7 separate regions of the Homo sapiens genome follow, and all the other regions are linked to region 4. Evidence: promoter capture Hi-C in human tissues and cell types (Jung and others, 2019). All regions are on one chromosome and are shown on one strand. Each heading gives the region's core, a stretch centred on a gene start or on the middle of the fragment in contact. The rest is flanking DNA. Distances are from core to core; before and after follow the strand shown. Region 1 holds the start of APOBEC3F (apolipoprotein B mRNA editing enzyme catalytic subunit 3F). Region 2 holds the start of LOC105373033 (a long non-coding RNA gene). Region 3 overlaps NPTXR (neuronal pentraxin receptor). Region 4 holds the start of RPL3 (ribosomal protein L3). Region 5 has its middle 16 kb from the start of APOBEC3A. Region 6 overlaps LOC105373032 (a long non-coding RNA gene). Region 7 overlaps LOC105373032 (a long non-coding RNA gene).

Region 1 (3,033 bases), core at 262-2,761, 280 kb after region 4:
GTGCCACTGCACTCCAGCCTGGGCTACAAGAGCGAAACTCCATCTCAAAAAAAAAAAAAAAAAAGAGAGAGAGAATAAAACTATTCACCCCAAAATAATAGATTTTAACCTTTCAGCCAGTTCCTTCTGACATTTCACCTCTGTATATTACTATTGTTAAATCATGGTAGAACCGAATTCTGAGGCCCAGGCCACTCTTCTAAGTGCTGCGCGGATGTGAGCTCATGTGAGGCTGCCCTAGGCCCGCACGGGCCATTCCCATCTTACAGAGGAGGTGCCAGAGGCGCAGAGAGATGGGGTAACCTGCCCAGGCCACAGAGCTGGGGACGGATGGGGCTGGGGCCTCTTACCAGACCAGCCCTGTCCAGTCTCTGTGTCACCAGCCTTGCAGGAGGGAGCCATTGGGGACCAGACTCTCTTCTTACTAAATTTTAAAATAATAGCATTTCTCCTGATCATTGAGTTTTTTTCCCATATATTCCATGTTTTTTGTTTTTGTTTTTTTTTCTTTTGAGACGAAATTTGGCTCTTGTTGCCCAGGCTGGAGTGCGATGGGGCGATCTCGGCTCACTGCAACCTCCGCCTCCTGGGTTCAAGCGATTCTCCTGTCTCAGCCTGTGGAGTAGCTGGATTATAGGCGCCCGCCACCACACCCGGCTAATTTTGTATTTTTAGTAGAGACAGGGTTTATCCATGTTGATCAGGATGGTCTCGAACTCCCGACCTCAGGCAATCCACCCACCTCAGCCTACCAAAGTGCTGGGATGACAGGTGTGAGCCACCGCACCCGGCCACTATATTCCATGTTACTCGTGTCATTTATAAACAGTGAATGCTGATAGTGGAGGAGGAGCGTGTGTTTGGGGTCATCTGCATCCTCCTCTGCCCACAGTGGAGACATCCTTGGAAGATACGATTTATCTTGTGCTTCAGAGACCATTCCCTCCCCACACCCTCTCCTAAGACTTGCTATTTAAGCAAAGTAAATGTTACAGAAAATCCATCAAAGCACTGTGAACAAAATTCCACATTGCTCTAATCATCCTTTGGTTCAATTCTCCCAGTTCCAGAGTTCAGGAATGGCGGAAAGAACACAGAGGGAGCACCCTCCCAGGGCCGGGAGCACCAGCCCTGCCATGACTTTCGGTGGCGGGGGAGAGTCTCAGCAGGGCACCTGGGCTGGGGCAGGTGGGGAAGCGGCCTATTCAGAAGCAGCAGTGGGGCAACCACAGAGCAGGAAAAAGAGCCTGGCTGGGAGTGGCGGGGGCAGGGGAGCCAGAGGGGAGGGAGCCCAGGGCTGGGGCTGGGGCAGGGGGAGGCCAGGGCTGACGCCCAGCAGAGCCACCAGGCAGGAAGGGGCAGCAGAGGGGCCCAGCGGGTAGAGCGGGCAGCGGTACCTGAAGTGAGGCTTCATCCTTGGCCGGCTAGTCCCGACTAAGATCTTTGTCTGGAGCACCAGGGTTTCACTTTCTGCTCCAGGCTCCAGGTTTCAGGACAGCCCTCCCTAAAGTGACCTCCCAGGGCCTCGTAGTCATGGCCCCTCCCCCTTCCTGCTCAGGCGCTGGTGTAGGAGGCCCTGGGACGCTTTATCTTCCTCAGTCTCTCACCCTCTTTCTGGTTTTCTCTGGGGCCCTCCCCCTGGCAGAGGGACCTCTGATAAAGACAGGCCGCTCTGTGCGGCAGGACCCAAGGCAATTGCAAAGGGAAAGAGAAAGTCATTGCAGCCAGCGCCCGCGAGGTGGGTCCACACCAGGCTGAGCCAGCAGAGCACAAGCCCCTCCCCTGGTGGTCCCGCCCAGCTGGAGCCTCCTCTCCACCATCAAGACAGACAGGCTGATGCCTCCGCAGGGACTCCCGGATCCTGCCCTCGGGGATCATCCCAGAGACGGCCCCCACCCAGCGGCCATGGGGACAGGGAGGGAGAGTAAAGGGCCAGGTGTCTGCCTCTCCCCAGGCCTTCACCCTCGGAGGCCACCGTGGGAGGGAGGGACAGCAGGTGGGTGTGGGCCTCAGATGTCCCACCGGGATGCCATGCGCGCCCCCACACTGAGCTCTTTCCTTCCTGCTTCTCCTTCTTCCCCATCTCCTGCCCGGAGTTCCTCCCTGGTGGGCTGAGCTCTCGCCTCCTCTTGTCCCCATGTCATGGAAGAGCAGTGGCTGGTGTCCCAGGCCAGCCTGTCTGGAGCCTCCCTGCGCGTCTCACAGCTCCCTTCCCCTGGTAGCGTGTTCCCATGGCGCGGTGACCTAAAAATTACACAAGGGATGCATTTGGTTTTTTTGTTTGCTTTTGTTTTTTTGTGTTTTTTTGTTTGTTTGTTTGTTTTGAGACGGAGACTTGCTCTGTTACCCAGGCTGGAGTACAGTGGCGTAATCTCAGCTCACCGCAACCTTTGCCTCCCAGGTTCAAAAGATTCTCCTGCCTCAGCCTCCCATGTAACTGCGATTACAGGCACCCACCCCTACGCCTAGGCTAATTTTTGTATTCTTAGTAGAGACAGTGTTTCTCCATGTTGGTCAGGCTTACAGCCGCCCACCACTATGCCTGGCTAATTTTTGTATTTTTAGTAGAGACAGGGTTTCTCCATGTTGGTCAGCTGATCTCGAACTCCCGATCTGAGGAGATCCGCCCGCCTTGGCGTACCAAAGTGCCGGGATTACAGGTGTGAGCCACCGCGCCTGGCCACAATGTATAAATTTGGAAAGGAGATTTTATTTCTTGTTAAGGGTGACAGGCAGCAAGGTAGCCATCCCGCAGCCTGGGAAGAGCAGCCTCTGGGAAACACCAGAGACAGACATTTAGAAGCAGGAGGGGTTGGGGCAGGAGCTTTATGCTGAAGGGGTTGGCTAAACATACATATTCAACAGGCTATAGGAGGAGCTATGAATATTCATGTGGGTGGCTGCACTCCATGCTTATTGAACAAACATGCGTGTAACATATGATCCCAGGCAGGCACAGTGGCTCACGCCTGTAATCCCAGCATTTTGGGAGGCCGAGGCAGGTGGATCATCTGAGGTCAGTGTCAGGCCTCT
Region 2 (3,415 bases), core at 576-3,075, 350 kb after region 4:
GGGAAAAATGTAAATTTCTTTTTTTTTTTTTTTTTTTGAGACAGAGTCTTGCTCTGTCCCCCAGGCTGGATTGCAGTGGTGCCATCTCGGCTCACTGCAACCTCTGCCTCCCAGCTTCAAGCGAGTCTCCTGCCTTAGCCTCCTGAGTAGCTGGGATTACAGGCGCCTGCTACCATGCCCAGCTAAGTTTTGTATTTTTAATAGAGACACAGTTTCACCATGTTGGCCAGGCTGGTCTCCAACTCCCGACCTCAAGCGATCCACTCGCCTCGGCCTCCCAAAATGCTGGGATTACAGGTGTGAGCCACCGCACTCGGCCTCGATTTCATTTTAAAAGACAACAACTGGGTGTACCCTCCCGCATGTGCCCACATGCACGTGCACATGCATACATGGGTGTGTGAGCCTACATGCATGTGTACATGTGCATATCCATGTGTGGTTGGGGTAGGGGTTGTTTCATGTCACCAAACAGTGACATGACCTGGTTTTTCTTTTGAAGAGTCACTCCAGAGCTGGGCCAGGTGGCTGATGCCAGTAATCCTGGCACTATGGGAGGTCAAGGATGGAGGATTGCTTGAGACCAGGAGTTTGAAGACCAGCCTGGGCAACATAGCAAGACCCTGTCTCTACAAAAAATTCCCCAGGCATGGTGGCATGGTCCTGTTGTCCCAGCTACTCAGGAGGCTGAGATTGGAGGATTGCCTGAGCTCAGGAGTTCGAGGCTGCAGTGAGATATGATCACGCTGCAGCACTCCAGCCTGGGTGACAGAGACAGAGCTTATCTCTAAAAAAAGAAAAAAACAAAGTCACTCCAGTAGCTGCATGCAAAGGGAATGGGAGCTGAGCTGGTGAACCGGAGACTGTCAGACATCCCAGGCGACAGGTGACAGTGATGGCAGTCAGGGTACATTGGGGGTGAATTGTGGGGATGAATTCAGCCAGAGTGAGTTACTAATTAGATATGGAAGTGAGAGGAAGGGGAGGAAGCAGCGTTTTGGGGTTGAAACAGCTGGGCGAATGAAAGGGAAGGTGGGCAAAAGAAACATTCAGGATTAAGACCAAGACTTCTAATGTGGCATTGTCAAATTCAAGGCGGCGTGGCAGGGGGGCCACCGGGGCCGAGGGGAGCTGTGATCATATGGGAGAGGAGTGCAAAGCCCACAACCTGGGTGATACCTCCCAGGACCGGGGCTGACCGGGGCTGCTCTAACGTCTTTCTTTCTTTTCTTTAATTTTACATTTTAATTTAAATTATATACATGAACACGGCAATGAAGGATACCACAACAGTCCTGTGTTCTGCCAAACAAGCAACGACCATGCTTCTCTAGCCAGGTGGGCCACCTCAGGACTCTTGGGCAGGAAGCACCTACTGGGCCTTGCAGGCCTCTCCCAGCCCCGCTCTGTGCACCCTACATAACCCTAATGAGCCTGGCCTTAGGGAAATCTCAGTGCTGCCTATGGTTTTGCATAGACACCGGTGTGAATCTGGGCTCTACCACTTACCCTCTGTGTGTTCACAGGAAAAGGAAAGAATGGCTTTTCCTCGTAGCACGGTGGTGTCGGGAGCAACTCCCTATTCCCAATATTGGGTAAGATAGGGTTGGATTGGGCGCGAAAAGAGCTTAGCCCAGAGGGGAGACATGGTGCATTTGCCAGAAATGGTGGGTGCCACTCTAAAGGTGGGTGAGGAGAATCTTCTCTCCAACCGTCTTCGCCCCCTGGGCACAGTGCCATCACCTGGGATTTGCTGCCCCCCTGCACACCTGCCCCAGGAGCAGGAGGAGACTCAATAGATAGCATCAGACTAGAGACTGGGGCTGGGAACAGGGCTGGGAGCCTAGAGCAGAAGCCAGGTCCAGAGAGGGTTAAGGGGAGAGGACAGTCCCCAAGGGAACCAGAAGGAGCCCCTGGAGGGCAGGAGGCAAGTGACCATCACCAAGGAACCCGAGGAGGAGGCTCAGGAGCAGAGGCTTCGAGAGGCTGCAGGACTGGCTGTCAGCACCGTGTTAGCCATTAGCCATCATGTCCTAGTCCCTTCACGGTTCCTAGGTCAGGGTCCTCCTGCTTCTGTGACGGTCACAGCATGTGCTCCTGTGGTCCTCCTCTGGTTGCTCTTAGGACACAGGAGGCTTACATCACTTCAGAGTGACCGCAAGCTGCTGGGTCAGCAATGACCTGCCCCACCCCTTCCTGAACTCAGGTCCCCTGTGCCACCCACATCAGTGTCACAGAATAAGGAAGTTCTCTGCTGTGTCTTCCCACAAGCATTGGTTTTGATTTCCCTGCTCTGACAATAGCCCTACAGGGATGCTGTGGAGTGACAATGAGGAAAGCGAGCCTTGGCCACACTTCAGTCACTTTGGGCAGCAGGGACCAGGAAGGCAGGAGGCCAGGGGACAGGCAGGAGGACAGGTATCCACACCCTGGAGAAAGGTCTCGAATAAGACTCAGCGCCCCCAGAGAGTAGGCTCCAGAGCAGCCGACCCTACGTCCCCTACTATAGCCAGCACAGGGCATGCCTGCTGCATCCAGGGCCCTGCAGGGCGTGCAGTGCAGAGAGCAGAGTGTGTCCTGGGTCTTGATCCCAGGCCCTGGGAAGGGAAGGAGACAGACATGCTGAGCCCTTGTTTGTGTCAGTCCATCTAATTACGGCAAACTAGAGCAAGGGGTGCTTTCATCCCCATTACTCCTCTAGAGGAGATACGAGAGGCTCTGAAAGGTACCTAGACTTGCCCAGGCCCTCCCAGTGAGCAGAGTGATGCAGGGACACAAATGCCCTCAGAAGGCTCACCCTGTGCCCTTTCTCCCACCTCCAGCCCTGCAGAAATGTGTGGGAAGCTGTGCTCCTGCCCCAAGTGAGCCCCTGAGTCCCAACGGCAGGTCTGGCGCCATCCTTTCCCAGGTCCACCTACTGCACCCAGCACAGCTGCCCGAAGAATGCACTGGCCCTGTGGGCCTGGGGGCTGCCCCCTGTCCTGCTGATTCCCCTGTCTTGGCTCCTCTTAGACCCCCCATCCTTGGCCAGCTGTCTCATGCAAGAGAGTCCACATCCTGGGGACAGTCCCACCCTGGCCACCCGGACCAAGCACAGCTCCTCGCCCTCCCAGCCTGGCCGGTGCTCGCTGAGGTGGAAACCTCAGAAGAAGGTGGGAGTGATCCACCCTCCTCAGCACAGTGTCCCTGCCATCTTGGTGGGCACCACTCCTCATGGGCAGACCAGAGGAGGCCCTGTTCTCTGCCATGAGGATGCCACCTCCCATTCTGTCTCCAGACCTTGGACTTCTCTAGTCAAGAGGATATCCCCTGGGGGCTGTCAACTCCCAATTGAGTCTCGGGTGGTTCCGGTGTGAGCTCATCTTGGTGTGTTGTGTGAGTCTGACCAGAGACCACCTTTCCCAGTTCACACTCG
Region 3 (3,232 bases), core at 687-3,186, 490 kb after region 4:
CTGGGAGCACCGCCAGCTGGGAGCACCGCCACCTGCGGAACCATGGGGCCATATTTGCCTTTGGGGCCACAGCACCTGGCACTTGGCAAGAGGCAGCAGGGGTGAGCTCACCCTCTGCACCAGGCCTGTCAAGGGCCTTACAATTGAATCCCACAAGAACTATGGTACTATTACTATCTCTGTTTTACAGATGAGGAAACTGAGGCTCAGAAAGTTTCAGAAGCTTGTCCAGCTCACTCAGCTGGCATTTCCACCCAGGCAGTCTGGCTCCAGGGCCTGCACCATGACACATTATGCTCTCCTGCCTCTCAATAACAGCAAAGAATAATAGTAATGTGACAACCACGTACTGCCTCTTATGGTTGACCACACTTCATATCTGTTCTTTCATTTTATCATTATTTATATCCCCAAATGTAGGTACTATTATTACACCCATTTTACAGATAAGGTAACTGAGGGCCAGAGGAGTTAAGCAGCTTGCCCAAGGTCGCAGATCTAGTAAGCAAGGAACTGAAAATGACGCTGGCCTGTCTAACGTGACAGTTCGTGTCTGCAACTACGACGCCATGTTGCTGCGGCACACATGGATGGATGGATGGATGGATGGATGGATGGATGGATGATGGATGGATGGATGGATGGATGAGTGCTCTGCAGCCCTGCCAGAGAAGCTCTCAGGGCCCTCTTCTCTCTCTATAGAGCATCTCAGTTCAGGCATCAGGGAAGCTGCCATCTGGAGGATGAGCAGGCAATGGGCAGAGGAGGGGTGGGGGCGGGAAGAATGTTCTTGGAGAAGGAACAGCATGTGTGGAGGCCTTAGGGTGAGAAGGAGTTTGGGGCAGTTGAGCAGCAGAGGACTTTCAGTGGGCGTGACCTATGTCCTGTCGGGGTAAGGGCTGAAGCCAGGAGGACAGGGACTTTATTGGCAGGGAGACGGGGCTGTGGAAGGATTTTAAGCAGGAGAGCAACATGGCTGGATTTGCCTCTGGCCGCTGTGTGGAGGGTGGGAGTGGAAGCTGTGGCACAGTCCAGCGGAGAGTAGCCAGGACTAGGGAGAAGGCTAGGAGCTGAGTGAAGCTCTGGGCGAGACGCAGGTTTAGATTCAAGCATTAGAGACACCACTTCATGAAGCTCTGGGTAAGAAGCAGGGTTAGATTCAACCACTAGAGATGCCACTTTAGGATTGTTTTCCTGTTTTTAAAAGAAAATCATGTCAAGTATTTCAGATGGGCAAAAAGGCATAAATACTACTACCCAGGCCCCTGCCCAGGCTCAAGAACCAAACGTTTCCAATCAGCTGATCCCCATCACAAGGTCAGGAGATGGAGACCATCCTGGCTAACACAGTGAAACCCCATCTCTACTAAAAATACAAAAAATTAGCTGGGTGAGGTGGCAGGCGCCTGTAGTCCCAGCTACTCGGGAGGCTGAGGCAGGAGAATGGCGTGAACCCCAGGGGGGCGGAGCCTGCAGTGAGCCGAGATCGTGCCACTGCACTCCAGCCTGGGCAACAGCGAGACTCTGTCTCAAAAAAAAAAGAAACTCCATCGCAAAAAAAAAAAAAAAATTGTTAGTCACGACATTAATAGTAGACACGCCTGTGATGCTTCCTATGCCTACCGCGCACTAAGCGCTTTCTGTCTATGAACTCAGTCAATCCTCACCACGATGCTATGAGATTTACTCTTTTACCCTTTGGGGCCAATGGGGAAACTGAGGCATGGCACCGTTACATAACAAGGCCACTCAGCTGGTGAAGCCCAGGTGTGAGCCCTAGCAGGACTCAGAACTCAGGGGATGGTTGGATGGGGGAGGTGAGGGGCCGTGGTCCACACTGCTCCCCCTGAAGGCTGCTCACTTTCCACCTGGTCCTGGTGCCCCTGCAGTCTGCCCCTGGTGAGGGAGGTGGGGTGGCAGGATGGGGTTTCTCTGAGAAAGCTTTCTGACCCCAAACTCCCACCGTTGCAAAACCTGGTGGTCTGGCCGTCCCAGAACAGCCTCTGCCTCACTGCCAGCTGGGAGTACCACTACCTGGGTGATCCTGGGCAGGGGCAGTGGTGCAGAGGGTGGGACCCTGACCCTCAACAGACCCAGACCAGCAGTGTAGGCCTGAGGAATGAGCACAGTCTGTGGGCTGTGCAGAGGATGGGACTCTGGCCCTGGAGTCCTGCACCTGCCTTCTGCTCCCTGCAGCAAGGGAATAGACCCCGGGTGGGGCTAAGGTGATGGGGTTTCCCTGCATCCTCCCAGCCTCAGCCACCCCACGCTGGCAGGACCCTCCTATCAGTCTCCCTTTGTGAAGCTGCCCTGCGCCATAGTCTCACACAACCTTCTGGATCTTCTAGACTTCCCGTGGCCATTAGTACCTCTCCTGCTTGCCTTCGAGTTAGGCAGGGCAACCAGCACTGTGCCCACTTGGCAGATCAACCAACAGACCCAGACCATCAGTGTGAGCCTGAGGAATGAGCACAGATTTCAGGATCAGGAAGGCCAGGCTGGAGTGCTGGCTCTGCAGCGTCACAGGTATGTGACCTTAGACAGGCACTGAGCCTCAGTTCCCTCATCTCTGAGTGGGCCTCCCTACTTCCCCAGGCTGTTGAGAGCAGCCTAGAACTGTTTGCACAGATCTTCCCTAGTGCGGGGCCTGGCATGCAGCGAGTGCTCGATGGAGACAGCTGCTGCCGTTAGCATTCTGATTGAGTGCTAATGAGCCCAGCACATTATGGCTGAGCCAGGCCTAGAACAAGGGGCTCTGGCTCTAGGCCCAGCACACTTACGCCAAACCCCACCCCGGACTCCCAGCGGGACAGGCCATGGGTTCCCAGCCTCCACCTTTCTGCCCCAGCAGGAGCTGAGTGGGGGTGCTGGCGTCATCATTCCCTCCATCATCTTAGGTGAGGGGCCCAGTTGGCATCGGGCCGGGAGCCCACGCGGCACAGCCTGCGCCCACAGCAGATGGGAAGTGGGGGTGCGGGAGTCGTGTTCTTCTGATTCAGACACTGGGACGGGGAGGGACTCACACACGATCCGGCGAGCCCACCTCCTCCATGGCCTTCCTGGCCGCTGCAGAGCCAGTGGCTCTGACAAAAGAACAGCTTGAGCGCACACCCCCTCAGCCCGCACGTTTTCTCCTCCAAACAGCGTCTGTTTAAATAGCCTCGACTCCCTGTTCTTGCTGGCAGATCTTCCTCCCTCTGTTCTTCCTGGCAAGTCTTCCTCCCTCTCTCCC
Region 4 (3,322 bases), core at 354-2,853:
TTTTGAAACATATGTGGCCCCCAGGATTTCTAATAATGGATTGAAGATCTATCACTTATGTCCTTCGGGAATGGTGTGAGGATTGAGATAATTTTTTTTTTTTTGAGCTGGATTGCACTGGCGCAATCTCAGCTCACTGCAAACTCCGTCTCCCGGGTTCAAACGATTCTCCCGCCTCAGCCTCCCAAGTAGCTGGGATTACAGACGCACACCATCGTGCCCCGCTAATTTTTGTATTTTTAATAGAGACGGGGTTTCGCCATGTTGCCCAGGCTGGTTTCGAACTCCTGACCTCAGGTGATCCGCCCGCCTCGGTCTCCCAAAGTGTTGGGATTACAGGCGTGAGCCACCGCGCCTGGCCGAGAGAATGCTTTTCAAACGACGGTGGGAGCAAAGGCCAGGCCCAGAATTAAAGAAGATGACAGGGTGGGACAGAGGAAGCAGGTGATATGAGAGCGTGTGCTCTGGCGCAGCCATGAGGCTGAAGTAGACGGTTAGGGGAGCGTCTTTGGTGGCCGCTGAAGTTGATGCTTAATTCCGAGGAAACAACGAGGCGGCCATGGAAAGTAACGAGATACTTGATTCTTAGAAAGATTTGTAGGGGGCCAGGCGCGGTGGCTCACACCTGTAATCCCAGCACTTTGGGAGGCCGAGGCGGGCGGATCACGAGATCAGGAGTTCAAGACCAGCCTGGCCAACATGGTGAAACACCGTCTCCACTAAAAATACAAAAAAAAAAAAAAAAAAAATTAGCCAGGCATGGTGGCGCATTCCTGTAATCCCAGCTACTCGGGAGGCTGAGGCAGGAGAACTGCTTGAACTGGGAACCGGTAGGCGGAGCTTGCAGTGAGCTGAGATCGCGCCACTGCGACAGAGCGAGACTCCGTCTCAAAAAAGAGATTTGTAAGGGACCAGCCTGGAAGCAGGGAATCGGTCAGGATCCGAGTCACCCTGGAGCCTAGGCAGAGATCAGCGAAAGCCCTCGCTGATGCATAGGTCTGGAAGGCGTGGGGCTCCGGGAGGCTGAGCAGCTGGACTCGGCATGACCAGAGGTCGTGAGGCCGTTCCGCAGGCTTGGGACGCTCCTGACCCTCAGAATCAAGCGCGGGCCACTGCATTAGCATGGGAGAAATGGCAGAGATAGGGCTTGAGGGAGGGATGCCCGAGATTAAAGGTATTAAAGGTAAATTGGTGTCGCCGCAAAACCAGCGTGGGAGCCAGGAAACGAGAGTTTCAGTCTTTCTTCGCTAATTCCAGAGATAGCTGCATATCACAGGAGGAGAAGCGACGCAGCCATTTTTCTTCGTTATTATCAAATTTGGCTGCTGCCGGACGCCGTAGATTTGTGGCTCACCCACCCTTAGCCCACCTCTCCGCGGCTTTTCACTAAGTTTGAACCCGACCCCTCGCCGTAGAGTGTGTAATTTCTGTCTCCGAAGCTGACGTCAACTTCTGAACGAAAGCTAGGAGCGGAAGAGCGTGCGTGGAAATGGCGCTCGGTACGTGCCCCCGACCTGTCGTCTGCCGCGGGGGCGCGCTCGCACGCCGGAAGGGGCGGGGCCAGATTTGGCTTTATATAGCGGACCCGTAAGGCCGACCGGCCTCTACCGGCGGGATTTGATGGCGTGATGGTATGTGTTGTAATGGCGGCCGTTTCATTGTCACCGGCGTCGGCACGGCTGAATCCGCGACGCATCGCCGCCATCCCGTCTTGGCCGGCGCCGGGGGTTTGCTTTAGGGGCACGGGCGACCCAGCGGGGACTTCAGTCTGGCCTATTTTCTGGAAAGTCGAGAGGCTTGTGAAGAGCGCTTGGAGGACTGGCTTTGGGCCTGCAGGTCGGCCAGAGAGAGGCCGTAAGGGTGGGAGCAGGCTTGGAGGCCCGGCGTTTTTAAAGCCATGAGTCATTTCTAAGTTTCGACCTCACCAATTCTATCATTAGTTGGGATTAGGGCCCATAACCTGCTTGTCTGGGTAGAAGGACCTTGGGTGGAGGTTCTCGGCGCCGTTCTCATTGGGAGGTAAAGAAGCTTGGGGGAGGGGAGTGTTGTGGAGTCCTCCTGAATATCTGGGGCCGCTGGTGCACTCCGAAGGCCTCTGGAGCTCGCAGAAACCACAGATGATGAACTTATTGACGGGCGGACAGAAACTGTGTGCTGATTGTCACGTTCTGATTTGGCTCTGCGGAGTTCTTTGGCCTGTGTGTATCAGTGTAATTAGTGTCCGGGCACCGGAGGCAGCCTATAGCTTAACATTGCTAGCTGCTACCCAGCGTTTGTCCCGGGAGTCCCTTTCTTTAGCGGTCAAAACCTTGCTAATTGGCATATAAAGCTGCCTGTTAAGCAGTTTTTAGTGCCACTACTTAGTGTATTTTTGTGTGGTTAGATAAAAAAAATGGGTCGTTTTCTTACAGGTTGAGAGGATTTGAAATAAGATTCAGCTTAAATTTTGTCGAATACAAAAGCATTCTTGACACGTGCGAGCCTGGAAGAGATAATGACCTTTTTATTCGGCTTGCTGGGTGTCTGGTCAGGATTCTTCAGTATTGCTGAGATTTGGAACTTAAGCAGCTGGGAACTAGAGAAGGGGGCACTGCTTTGGTTTGGGTGCTGACGGTGATTTTTTTCCCACCTAGTCTCACAGAAAGTTCTCCGCTCCCAGACATGGGTCCCTCGGCTTCCTGCCTCGGAAGCGCAGCAGCAGGCATCGTGGGAAGGTGAAGAGCTTCCCTAAGGATGACCCGTCCAAGCCGGTCCACCTCACAGCCTTCCTGGGATACAAGGCTGGCATGACTCACATCGTGCGGGAAGTCGACAGGCCGGGATCCAGTATGTACAGACATCCTAAAAGTTGGGGGAATAGGAGTGGAGGGGGAGGGAAATTGTAGAGATGGAGTCAAGCTGTTAGCAGAGGGCAGACTTTTTTTTTTAAGCAGGAGTTACACGTTGTCAGAACTGCTGCGACAGCAGAATGGGAATGCTTAACTTGAAAACTAATATTCCAAGGCTACAGATGGTCAGCACTGTTTGCTTTAGGTGCGGTGTGGGGTATTGATTTCAGAGCATAGTAAATTTGCCAGGAACCTTAGCAAAGAGAAGTTAACACTAGTGTGGGGGGTTGGAGCTGCTGAGGCTGGCATAAGAACTGCCTCATTCATGTTTTTTTCACCTGAAAGCTTGAATAATGGCCACTTACCTGTGTGTGTTCTACTTAGAGATGTCTAACAGCACTGGTTGCTGAGCCATGGAGACATTAATGTTAGGCAGTTGATACTGACTAATCTCTGAGCTCAGAGCTATTGTTAGGGCACTGAATTTTCCAGAT
Region 5 (2,996 bases), core at 337-2,836, 380 kb after region 4:
GCAGCTACACAGCCAGGTGCTGTGGAGTGGTCAGTGCTGCCCTGGTCTCACCCGGAGCTTCTGTTTCATCTCCCCACAGCACGTTCCTTCTGTTTCCTGTTTCCTGGAATCTTGGATCACCTTCTTTACCTATTAGAGATCTTTGGTTGCAAGCAAAAGAAACTAACCATGGCTACCTAGAAACGTGGGGGAAGCTGGGTGCGCTGGCTCACACCTGTAATCCCAGCACTTTGGGAGGCCAAGGCAGGTGGATCACCTGAGGTCAAGAGTTCAAGACCAGCCTGGCCAACATGGCAAAAGCCCGTCTCTACTAAAAATACAAAAATTAGCCAGGTGTGGTGGCAGGCACCTGTAATCCCAGCTACTTGGGAGGCTGAGGCAGGAGAATCACTTGAACCCAGGAGGCGAAGGTTGTAGTGAGCTGAGATCGTGGCACTGCACTCCAGCCTGGGTGACAAAAGTGAGACTCCATCTCAAAAAAAAGGAAACATGGGGGGCGGCTCACAGAGTGGAAAGGTTAACCCTTTTCTACACTGGACAGACAGAAAAGGTTGAAGAGTTAACACCTTTCCACACTCTACAGCCATGGTCCAAGGAGGAGGCCAACAAGATCATGGCACGATTGTAAGCATCATCGGTGGAAAATCAAAAAGGTGGAACCATTTGGCTGCCACATGAAGAAGATGTTTTTTGGAACGGCATTAAGACAGGAAGATTCGGGAGAGGTAAGTCATCATGACCGAGGTTGGTGAGATGCACGTTCCTATAAGTACGGTGATGTAAACCCCAAAGACTGGGTTTTCAACATTTAGATTCAATCTATAGACAGGACATGGGAGGCTGAGATATGTTCACAAAATTAATATAAACATTCTCAACCTTAATAATGTGAAGGCGAAAGTGAAAGAGGTCAAGATGGAATGAGGAGGGAGGCTGGAAGAGGAGTGAGGGAAGTGTCAGCGGCTGATTCACAAGGTTGAGTCAAGTGATTCTGCTTCTTGTTGAGTTTCAGCAAGCACTTGAAGCTGTGGGCGTTTGCCCACGGGGGACCTGAGGGCACTGATGCAACTACATGAGGAGGGGAGAGGAGGGGAGGGGAAGTTCTGGAGAATTATAAGAGCGAAACTCTCATATTCGCGGAGGGAAGGCAGTAGATACCATCAAGAGCTAGTAAATCAAGAAATAGTGGTTCCCCGAGGAAACCACCCAAGGAACTAAAACCAGAGGGTCAGTATGACTGACTCCGAAAACCGGAAGCAGCCTAGAGGAGAAAATCCTCTGCGCCGTGTTCCCTTCTCCAGGATGTTGTCTTAACTAGTGTGTGTTATATCAACAACTTTTAACCTCATCCACAATGTGAAATAAAACGATACTATAACCAGGAATTAGTAAGAAAAGCACAGACTTTCATCAGAAAGCACCATTAAGGGAGTAAGGGAGTGAAAAGGCCTATCATAGACTCGGAAAAGATGTCTGCACTATATCTACCTAACAAAGAGTTTATCTCCCAAATATATAAGGAGCTCCAGAAAATCAGTAAGAAAAAGAGCCCATTATAAAATGGGCCAAAATCTTGAAGGAGCAGCTTACAAAAGTGGATATCAAAATGGCCTGTGAACCCATGAAAATGTGGTCAACCTCATTAATCATCAGAGAAATGTAAAGTAAAACCACAGTGAGATACCACTAGCCCCTCCCCACCAGGATGGCTAAAATCCAAAAGACTGACAACATCAAATATTGTCAAGGATGGAACTCTTTTACATTGCTGATGGTAGCATAAAAGGGGCAGCATAGAATGTTTAGTTGCAGCTACTAAAGCGAAACAAGCATCTACTCCATGACTTAGCAATGCCACTCCTAGGTATTATAATATCCAACTGAAATAGATGCTATGTCCACCAAAAGGCTGCATAAGAACGTTCACAGTCTGGGCGCGGTGGCTCACGCCTGTAATCCCAGCGCTTTGGAATGCTGAGGGAGGCAGATCACCAGAGGTCAGGAGTTTGAGACCAGCCTGGCCAACATGGCAAAACTCCATCTCTGCTAAAAAGAAGTACAAAAATTAGCCAGGCGTGTTGGCATGCACCTGTAATTCCAGCTACTCGGGAGGCTGAGTCAGGAGAATCCCTTGAACCCAGGAGGTGGAGGTTGCAATGAGCAGAGATGGTGCCACTGCACTCCAGCCTGGGCAACAGAACGAGACTCTCAAAAAAAAAAAAAAAAAGAACGTTCATTTCGCTTTATTCATGACAGCCAAAAACTCGAAATAACTCGGTCTGTCCAGCAACAATGGCATATATTAAAATATATTATAATATATAAAATTATTTTAATATATAAATTATATACAATGTAATTTTAATATATTATAATTTAAAATATATATTAAAATATATTGTGAATATGTTATACATGGTAAATATATTGTACTCTCTCCATCAATGGAATACTACACAGCAATAAAAATGAATGAACTCCTGGCATATAAAGCATCAGTGAACCCCACAAAAGTAATATTGAACAAAAGAAGTCACACATAAAAGAATTCATACTGTGTAATTTCTATGAAGTTCAAAAACAGGCAAAATTAATCTATGATAATAGAAGTCAGAACACCAGTTTCCAGTGGAGGGGGAACAAATCGAATGACATGCATGAGCCACCTGAGATTCTGGAGAAAGCCTCCACCCCATCTGGCCGGTGGTTACATCAACTGCAAACCTAAGCTTTTGCAATTAACTCTAAGTTATACTCCAATACAAACATTTTTGAAAGAAAACAAAGTTTCAAAGCCTGTATTTTGAAAGAAGGGAACAGTTTTACTAACGGACATAAAATATCCCAAATACACTGATAGACAGAAATACAACACAAATGCAAATAGAATCACCATGACTGCTCTTAGCTTTCTTTCTTTTTTTAAAATAGTAAACGGGTTATTTAAGTCCAAGTGACAGAATAATTGTGATTGAAGGAAATGAGGGGGTACTTAC
Region 6 (3,000 bases), core at 235-2,734, 400 kb after region 4:
AAAGTCTGAAGCTAGCAGAGGTTGGTTCGTGAGATTTAAGGAAAGAAACTGTCTCCATAACATAAAAGTGCAAGGTGAAGCAGCAAGTGCTGATGGAGCAGCTGCAAGTTGTCCAGAAGATCTGGCTAAGATCATTGATTAAGGTGGCCATAGTGAACAACAGGTTTTCCATGTAGATGAAATAACCTTCTATTGAAAGAAGATGCCATCTAGAACTTTCATAGCTAGAGAGGGGAAGGCAATGCCTGGCTTTGAAGCTTCAAAGGACAGGCTGACTATCTTGCTAGGGGCTAGTGCAGCTGGTGACTTTAAGTTGAAGTCAATGCTCATTTACCATTCTGAAAATCCTAGGGTCCTTAAGAATGATGCTAAATCTACTCTGCCAGTGCTCTAGCTTAGATGACTGCACATCTGTTTACAGCGTGGTTTGCTGGATATTTTAAGCCCACTGTTGATATATACTGCTCGGAAAAAAATATTCTTTTCAAATATTCTTTTCAAAATATTACTGCTCATTGACAATGCACCTGGTCACCCAAGAGCTCTGCTGGAGATGCACAAGGAGATGAATGTTGCTTTCCTGCCTGCTAACACAATGTCCATTCTGCAGCCCATGGACCAAGGAGTCCTTTCAGCTTTCAAGTCTGGATCTGGGCAAAGTAAATTGAAACCTACTGAAAAGCATTTATCATTCTAGGTGCCATTATGAACATATCAATCTACCAGGAGTTTGAAAGGAGTTGAGTCCAACCTTTGTGGATGACTTTGAGGAGTTGAAGACTTCAGTAAAAGAAAGAACTGCAGATGTGGTGGAAATAGCTAGAGAACTAGAAGTAGAAGTGAAGCCTATAAATGTGACTGCATTGCTGCAATCTCATGATCAAACTTGAGTGAATGATGAGCTGCTTCTTATAGATGAGCAAAGAAAGTGGTTTCTTGAAATGGAATGTACTCCTGGTGAAGATGCTGTGAACATGTTGAAATAACAACAAAGCATTTTAAATATTATAGAAATTTAGTTGATAAAGCAGGTTTGAGAGAATTGACACCAATTTTGAAAGGAGTGCTACTGTGGGTAAAATGCTATAAAACAGCATCACATGCTACAGAGAATCTTTCATGAAAGGAAGAGTCAATCAATGTGGCAAACTTCATCGTTGTCTTATTTATTTATTTATTTATTGAGACAGAGTTTCACTCTTGTCGCCCAGGCTGGAGTGCAGTGGCGTTGGCTCACTGGTGCAGTTGGCTCACTGCAGTCTCCACCTCCAAGATTCAAATGATTCTCCTGCCGCAGCCTCCCAAGTAGCTGGGATTACAGGTGCTTGCCACCACGCTGAGCTAATTTTTGTATTTTTGGTAGAGATGAGGTTTCACCATGTTGACCAGCCCAGTCTCAAACTCCTGACCTCAGGTGATCCACTCACCTTGGCCTCCAAAAGGGCTGGGATTACAGCCATGAGCCACCACACCCAGCCCATTGTTGTCTTATTTTAAGAAATTGCCACCACCACCCCAGCCTTCAGCAACCACCACCCTGATCTGTTGGCAGCCATCAACATCAAAGCAAGACCCTCCACCAGCAATAAGATTACAACTCACTGAAGGTTCAGATGATCATTAGCCTTTTTAGCAATAAAATATTTTTAAGGTATGTACTTTTTTAGAATAATGCGATTGCACACTTAATAGGCTACAGTATAGAGTAAACATAACTTTTATATGTACTCGGAAACAATAAAATTTGTGTGCCTTGCTTTATTGCAATATTCACTTTATCGTGATGGCCTGGAACCAAACCCACCGTATCTCTGAGGTATTCCTGTACTTAGTCTCTTACACCCAACATCTTATCAGTTCAACCAACACTTATTGAATGCCTGCCTTGTACACTGACAAGGGATAAGGGAGTCCAATATGGACCCTGCACTCCTGGAATTCACAGTCCTAGGTCTCCATCCCCTTCTATGAACTTGCCAGCAGAGGGATGTGGTATAGTGGTGTCATGCGCTTCCCAGCTTCTCAGAGGTCTTGGTAATTGTAAAACTTTGTCAAAGATGACCAAAAGAAAAAGTCCCATTTTCTTCTCCCTGCAAATGTCTCAGCAGCATTATTCTCCAAAGGATTCCAGCCATGTTCCCCTCTCCTCTCACGTCCTTGCTAACTTGATTCCCAATTCTTGGGAGAGGCTGGACTGAAGTCACCACTGACTCTATGGAAAGTGGAAGGAGAATGCAATAGAGACCAGCAGCTGGGCCGGGTGCGGTGTCTCAACCTGTAATCCCAGCACTTTGGCAGGTGGATCACCTGAAGTCAGGAGTTCGAGACCAGCCTGGCCAACATGGTGAAACCTCATCTCTCCTAAAAATACAAAAATTAGCTGGGCATGGTGGTGGGCGCCTGTAATCCCAGCTACTTGGGAGGCTGAGGCAGGAGAATCGTTTGAACCCGGAGGCGGAGGTTGCAGTGAGTCAAGATCACACCACTGCACTCCAGCCTGGGCAACAGAGCAAGGCTCCATCTCAAAAAAAAACAAAAACAAAAAAAGAGAGACCAGCAGCTGTAGTTCAGGACCATGAACAGCGCTGATGGGTGCCTCCTGTGCCAAACAGGTGAGTCCTATCAGCACAAGGTCTTCTCTCCCTATGCAAGAGCCAGTCTGAGGGCAGAACCCCCCTGCCTCTCATAGGTTGTGCTCTTGCTGCTGGAGTAACTGGATTTTCACCAGTGCTCATGTTGTGAACTGTTACAACCCTCCCCTCCAGGCTGGAAGATGGGGCTGAGAACCAAAAATACCCAGGAACGCTTCCATTTGGACCCATCAGTGGAGAAAGGGGAGCTCCCACTGCTGGCTTCCGGGGAAAGCAGATGTTAAGAGACCAGGATCTATAGATTTGTCTAAGAGCAATTCCTAAGCCAAGTTACACGGTGCTTTTCTGCTTTAAGCCTCGAAAGCCAGTCAATGAGATTCAGGCACAAGAGTTCACAGAGAATGGGTGC
Region 7 (3,158 bases), core at 602-3,101, 420 kb after region 4:
GATAAGTCAGCACTGTGCACGGGAGCACCTGGTGGGAAAAAGAGAAAGAATTTCAAAGTATGTTTCAAGGCTGAAAGCAAGAAAGGAAAAAAAAGTTTTAAAATGCATTTCGAGGCTGGGATACTCGGTTACACTACTCCTTGGCTGATACTGCAGCTGGGATGATCGGTTTACCTCAGAGATACAGGAAAGGAAGAGAGAAGTTTGTGGTCTCAGGTCACATGCCACTATTGTGGTCAGGCCATTAAAATAGTAGTGAAGGAAATTAAAGATGCTAAATTTATAAATGCAACTTAAAGATTAAAGTGGTTGTAAATGGAACCAAGCATGTGCTCTTCTTAGAATAATACAAAGTGTAAAATGAACTTGAAATCTCAAAAATAACTAGGATTTTGAGTTTATACATTTAATAAAGAGAATATCACATTTAAAAAATAAAAGGTCTGAAACGACAGCATTTCACTTGTCTACTAAAAGTGGAATATCTGAAAAATCAAAAATTAATCAAAATGAACATTTTTTTTCCTCGGGTTAAACTCAGAATATTGCAGCCAAAAATAGAGGTAAATTGTTCATATTTCCAATAAAGAATCCTACTCTACTAGATGACACTAAATAGATAGCTGAAATTTAAGTGTGTTTGCTTAGAAGCAACTCTGATTTCAGATTATTTTATGGATAGAAAACTTTTCCTCAAGGAAAGAGCTTGGTGTATTAAATTTAAAAGATAATCTCAAGATCTCAGGTATGACTCTGTAAAGCATGTATAAATTTTGTTGTTTTTCTAAATTTTTTTCAAATTTGAGAGATGGTATGTGTTCTAAATTACAGTTATAGGGAATGTATAATGAAAGCCAACATTTTAAATTTAATCTGAATTTTAAAGCTTAGTAATTTTGTTAGTTTCCGTAAGGTTAAGTGCAATTACTACAAAATACAAAATTGGGAATTGGAGGTATAGCACAGCCTGCTTCCATGCAAAAACCTGAATTTTTGCACTAAAACTAAATAGGCAAAACCTTCTGCAAATATATGATCATAGAACCACAATTGAAGTATACTACAATGGAAATGTGATACAATTATAAAGCCTACTGTCTTTTAGAAATCGGTTGTAGCGGAAATTATGTAAATCTAGGCCAGGTACAGTGGCTCACACCTGTAATTCTAGCACTTTGGGAGGCTGAGGCAAGACTCCTGCTTGACTCCGGTAGTTCAAGACCAGCCTAGACAACATGGCAAAACTCCGTCTCCACAAAAAATAAAAATAAAAAAAAATTAGTCATGTGTGGTGGTGCACACATCTGTAGTCCTAGCTACTCGGGAGTCTGAGCTGGGAGGATGCTTAAACCTGGGACGCAGAGATTGCAGTGAGCCAAGGTCAAGCCACTGCACTCCAGCCTGGGCAACAGAGCGAGACTCTATCTCAAAAAAATAAATAAATAAATAAATAAATAAATAAATAAATAAAAGAAAAGAAAATTATGTAAATCTATAAAAAAAATTCCACTTGAACTTTTGGGGTAAAGAACCAAAGGTACAATAGCTTCTTTCAATAATTATTTATTATTTTTAGTTTTTTAAATAAGTATAATATGGGCATATTTCATAATTGCTTTGAGAAATTTGAATTTTAAACATGAATCAGTAGGCATTTGGTTTTATCAAAAGCTCCTTAATAAATTAGAAGTTTTACATTAGGATTACCTGCAATTAAAATATAAACACAAACACATATGGAGTGAAGCATGCATTTTCACCCATAAATTAGAAGATTTTAGGGCAAACCTAAATATTTTCACATATTAACCATATGGCACTCCAAAATTTTAAGCAGTCTTTTTAAAATTCCTCTAAGTGGGCCCGATGGGGTGGTTCATGCCTGTAATCCCAGCACTTTAGGAGGCTGAGGTGGGAGAATCACTTGAGGTCAGGAGTTCGAGACCAACCTAGCCAACATGGTGAAACATCATCTCTACTAAAAATACAAAAAATAGCCGGGCTTGGTGGTGGGCACCTGTAATCCCAGCTACTTGAGAAGCTGAGGCAAGAGAATCGCTTGAACCTGGAAGGCAGAGGTTGCAGTGAGCTGAGATCACACCACCGCACTCCAGCCTGGGCGACAGAGTGAGACTCCATCTCAAAAAAGAAAATAATAATAATAATAATAACCTCTCCCTAAAACCTAGCCTGCAACATGATGAAACCCTATCTCTACTAAAATACAAAAATTATCTGGGCATGGTGGCGCATGCCTGTAATCCCAGCTACTTGGGAGGCTGAGGCAGAAGAATTGCTTGAACCCTGGAGGCGGAGGTTGCGGTGAGCAGAGATCGCGCCATTGCACTCCAGCCTGGGCAACAAGAGTGAAACTACATCTCAAAAAACAAATAAATAATTTTAAAATAAAATTCCTCTAAGTGGGCCAGGAGTTCGAGACTAATCTGGCCAACGTGGTGAAACCCCATCTCTACTAAAAATACAAAAAAAATTAGCCAGGTGTGGTGGTGCACACTTGTAATCCCAGCTACTCAGGAGCCTGAGGCACGAGAGTCACTTGAACCTGGGAAGTGGAGGTTGCAGTGAGCCAAGATGGTGCCACTGTGCTCCAGCCTGGGCAAGAGAGGGAAATTCTGTCTCAAAACAAAAAAACAAAAAAACAAAAAAAAAAAACTTCTAAGTGTATGTGGAGGGGGTTAGGTAAAGATTCAAGATGGTTTTGGATTTAATAATACTACTTGGGAGAATAATTTGGATTTATAGCCTAAAACCCTGATGTTATCATACAAAATCTGATATATCAAGTTGATAAAGAAGTGTTATATGTGATTAAAAAGAAAAATATGTGTCTCCAGAAAGGGAGCAATGCAAGGTGAGGACAAACCAAACCAAAAATCTATACAATGTGAAGAGGAAGGCAGTAAACAGGGTAAAGTAGGATGGAAAGGAGACTTCTGTGAAGACACCTTGTTTTACAGTTTTCACTTTAAAATAAAACAAATTTTACATAAATACAAAATAAAATGAAATCAAAATAGAAAAAAATCCCTAAAAATTGAAAACAAATTTAAACAAGCTAAACTAAAATACATCAAGTTAGTAGCATAGACACATTAAAAAATTATTTCATGTTACTTTAAAACACAGTATTTTAAGTG

What was found. Contacts are between HindIII fragments. The study calls those that stand out against the background at their distance.
Region 1: a contact is called between the fragment with the promoter of APOBEC3F here and the fragment with the promoter of RPL3 in region 4, in 5 of the 25 tissues and cell types used here (aorta, bladder, lymphoblastoid cells and 2 more).
Region 2: a contact is called between a fragment that was not itself captured here and the fragment with the promoter of RPL3 in region 4, in 1 of the 25 tissues and cell types used here (liver).
Region 3: a fragment that was not itself captured here is called in contact with the fragment with the promoter of RPL3 in region 4 in 1 of the 25 tissues and cell types used here (dorsolateral prefrontal cortex).
Region 5: a fragment that was not itself captured here is called in contact with the fragment with the promoter of RPL3 in region 4 in 1 of the 25 tissues and cell types used here (lymphoblastoid cells).
Region 6: a fragment that was not itself captured here is called in contact with the fragment with the promoter of RPL3 in region 4 in 1 of the 25 tissues and cell types used here (spleen).
Region 7: a fragment that was not itself captured here is called in contact with the fragment with the promoter of RPL3 in region 4 in 1 of the 25 tissues and cell types used here (heart right ventricle).

Annotation. Positions count from the first base shown.
Region 1 is chr22:39,039,342-39,042,374 of GRCh38, reverse strand. APOBEC3F (apolipoprotein B mRNA editing enzyme catalytic subunit 3F) reads right to left here and starts at 1,511. Exons shown (of 7, transcript NM_145298.6): 1 at 1,398-1,511. The coding sequence starts at 1,414. RefSeq lists enhancers at 1-589, 1,642-1,701. The HindIII fragment of the contact is 19,854 bases long and covers 1-3,033 here.
Region 2 is chr22:38,966,711-38,970,125 of GRCh38, reverse strand. LOC105373033 (a long non-coding RNA gene) reads left to right here and starts at 2,273. Exons shown (of 3, transcript XR_007068099.1): 1 at 2,273-3,152. LOC124905118 (a long non-coding RNA gene) reads left to right here and starts at 759. Exons shown (of 3, transcript XR_007068101.1): 1 at 759-886; 2 at 1,281-1,338; 3 at 1,527-2,013. The HindIII fragment of the contact is 5,262 bases long and covers 1-3,415 here.
Region 3 is chr22:38,831,994-38,835,225 of GRCh38, reverse strand. All of the region lies in intron 1 of NPTXR (neuronal pentraxin receptor), which reads left to right. Among named protein-coding and RNA genes, the nearest start is that of NPTXR, 10 kb to the left of the region's middle. The HindIII fragment of the contact is 5,879 bases long and covers 1-3,232 here.
Region 4 is chr22:39,317,904-39,321,225 of GRCh38, reverse strand. RPL3 (ribosomal protein L3) reads left to right here and starts at 1,603. Exons shown (of 10, transcript NM_000967.4): 1 at 1,603-1,631; 2 at 2,634-2,826. The coding sequence starts at 1,629. It overlaps SNORD43 (small nucleolar RNA, C/D box 43), which reads left to right and starts at 2,113; the gene lies at 2,113-2,174. RefSeq lists enhancers at 1-834, 999-1,418, 835-1,724, 1,809-1,858, 1,725-2,614. The HindIII fragment of the contact is 19,716 bases long and covers 1-2,601 here.
Region 5 is chr22:38,939,867-38,942,862 of GRCh38, reverse strand. No RefSeq gene overlaps it. Among named protein-coding and RNA genes, the nearest start is that of APOBEC3A, 16 kb to the left of the region's middle. The HindIII fragment of the contact is 9,821 bases long and covers 1-2,996 here.
Region 6 is chr22:38,916,580-38,919,579 of GRCh38, reverse strand. The region is part of intron 1 of LOC105373032 (a long non-coding RNA gene); the gene reads right to left. Among named protein-coding and RNA genes, the nearest start is that of APOBEC3A, 40 kb to the left of the region's middle. The HindIII fragment of the contact is 3,874 bases long and covers 1-3,000 here.
Region 7 is chr22:38,897,917-38,901,074 of GRCh38, reverse strand. The region is part of intron 1 of LOC105373032 (a long non-coding RNA gene); the gene reads right to left. Among named protein-coding and RNA genes, the nearest start is that of CBX6, 27 kb to the right of the region's middle. The HindIII fragment of the contact is 3,107 bases long and covers 298-3,158 here.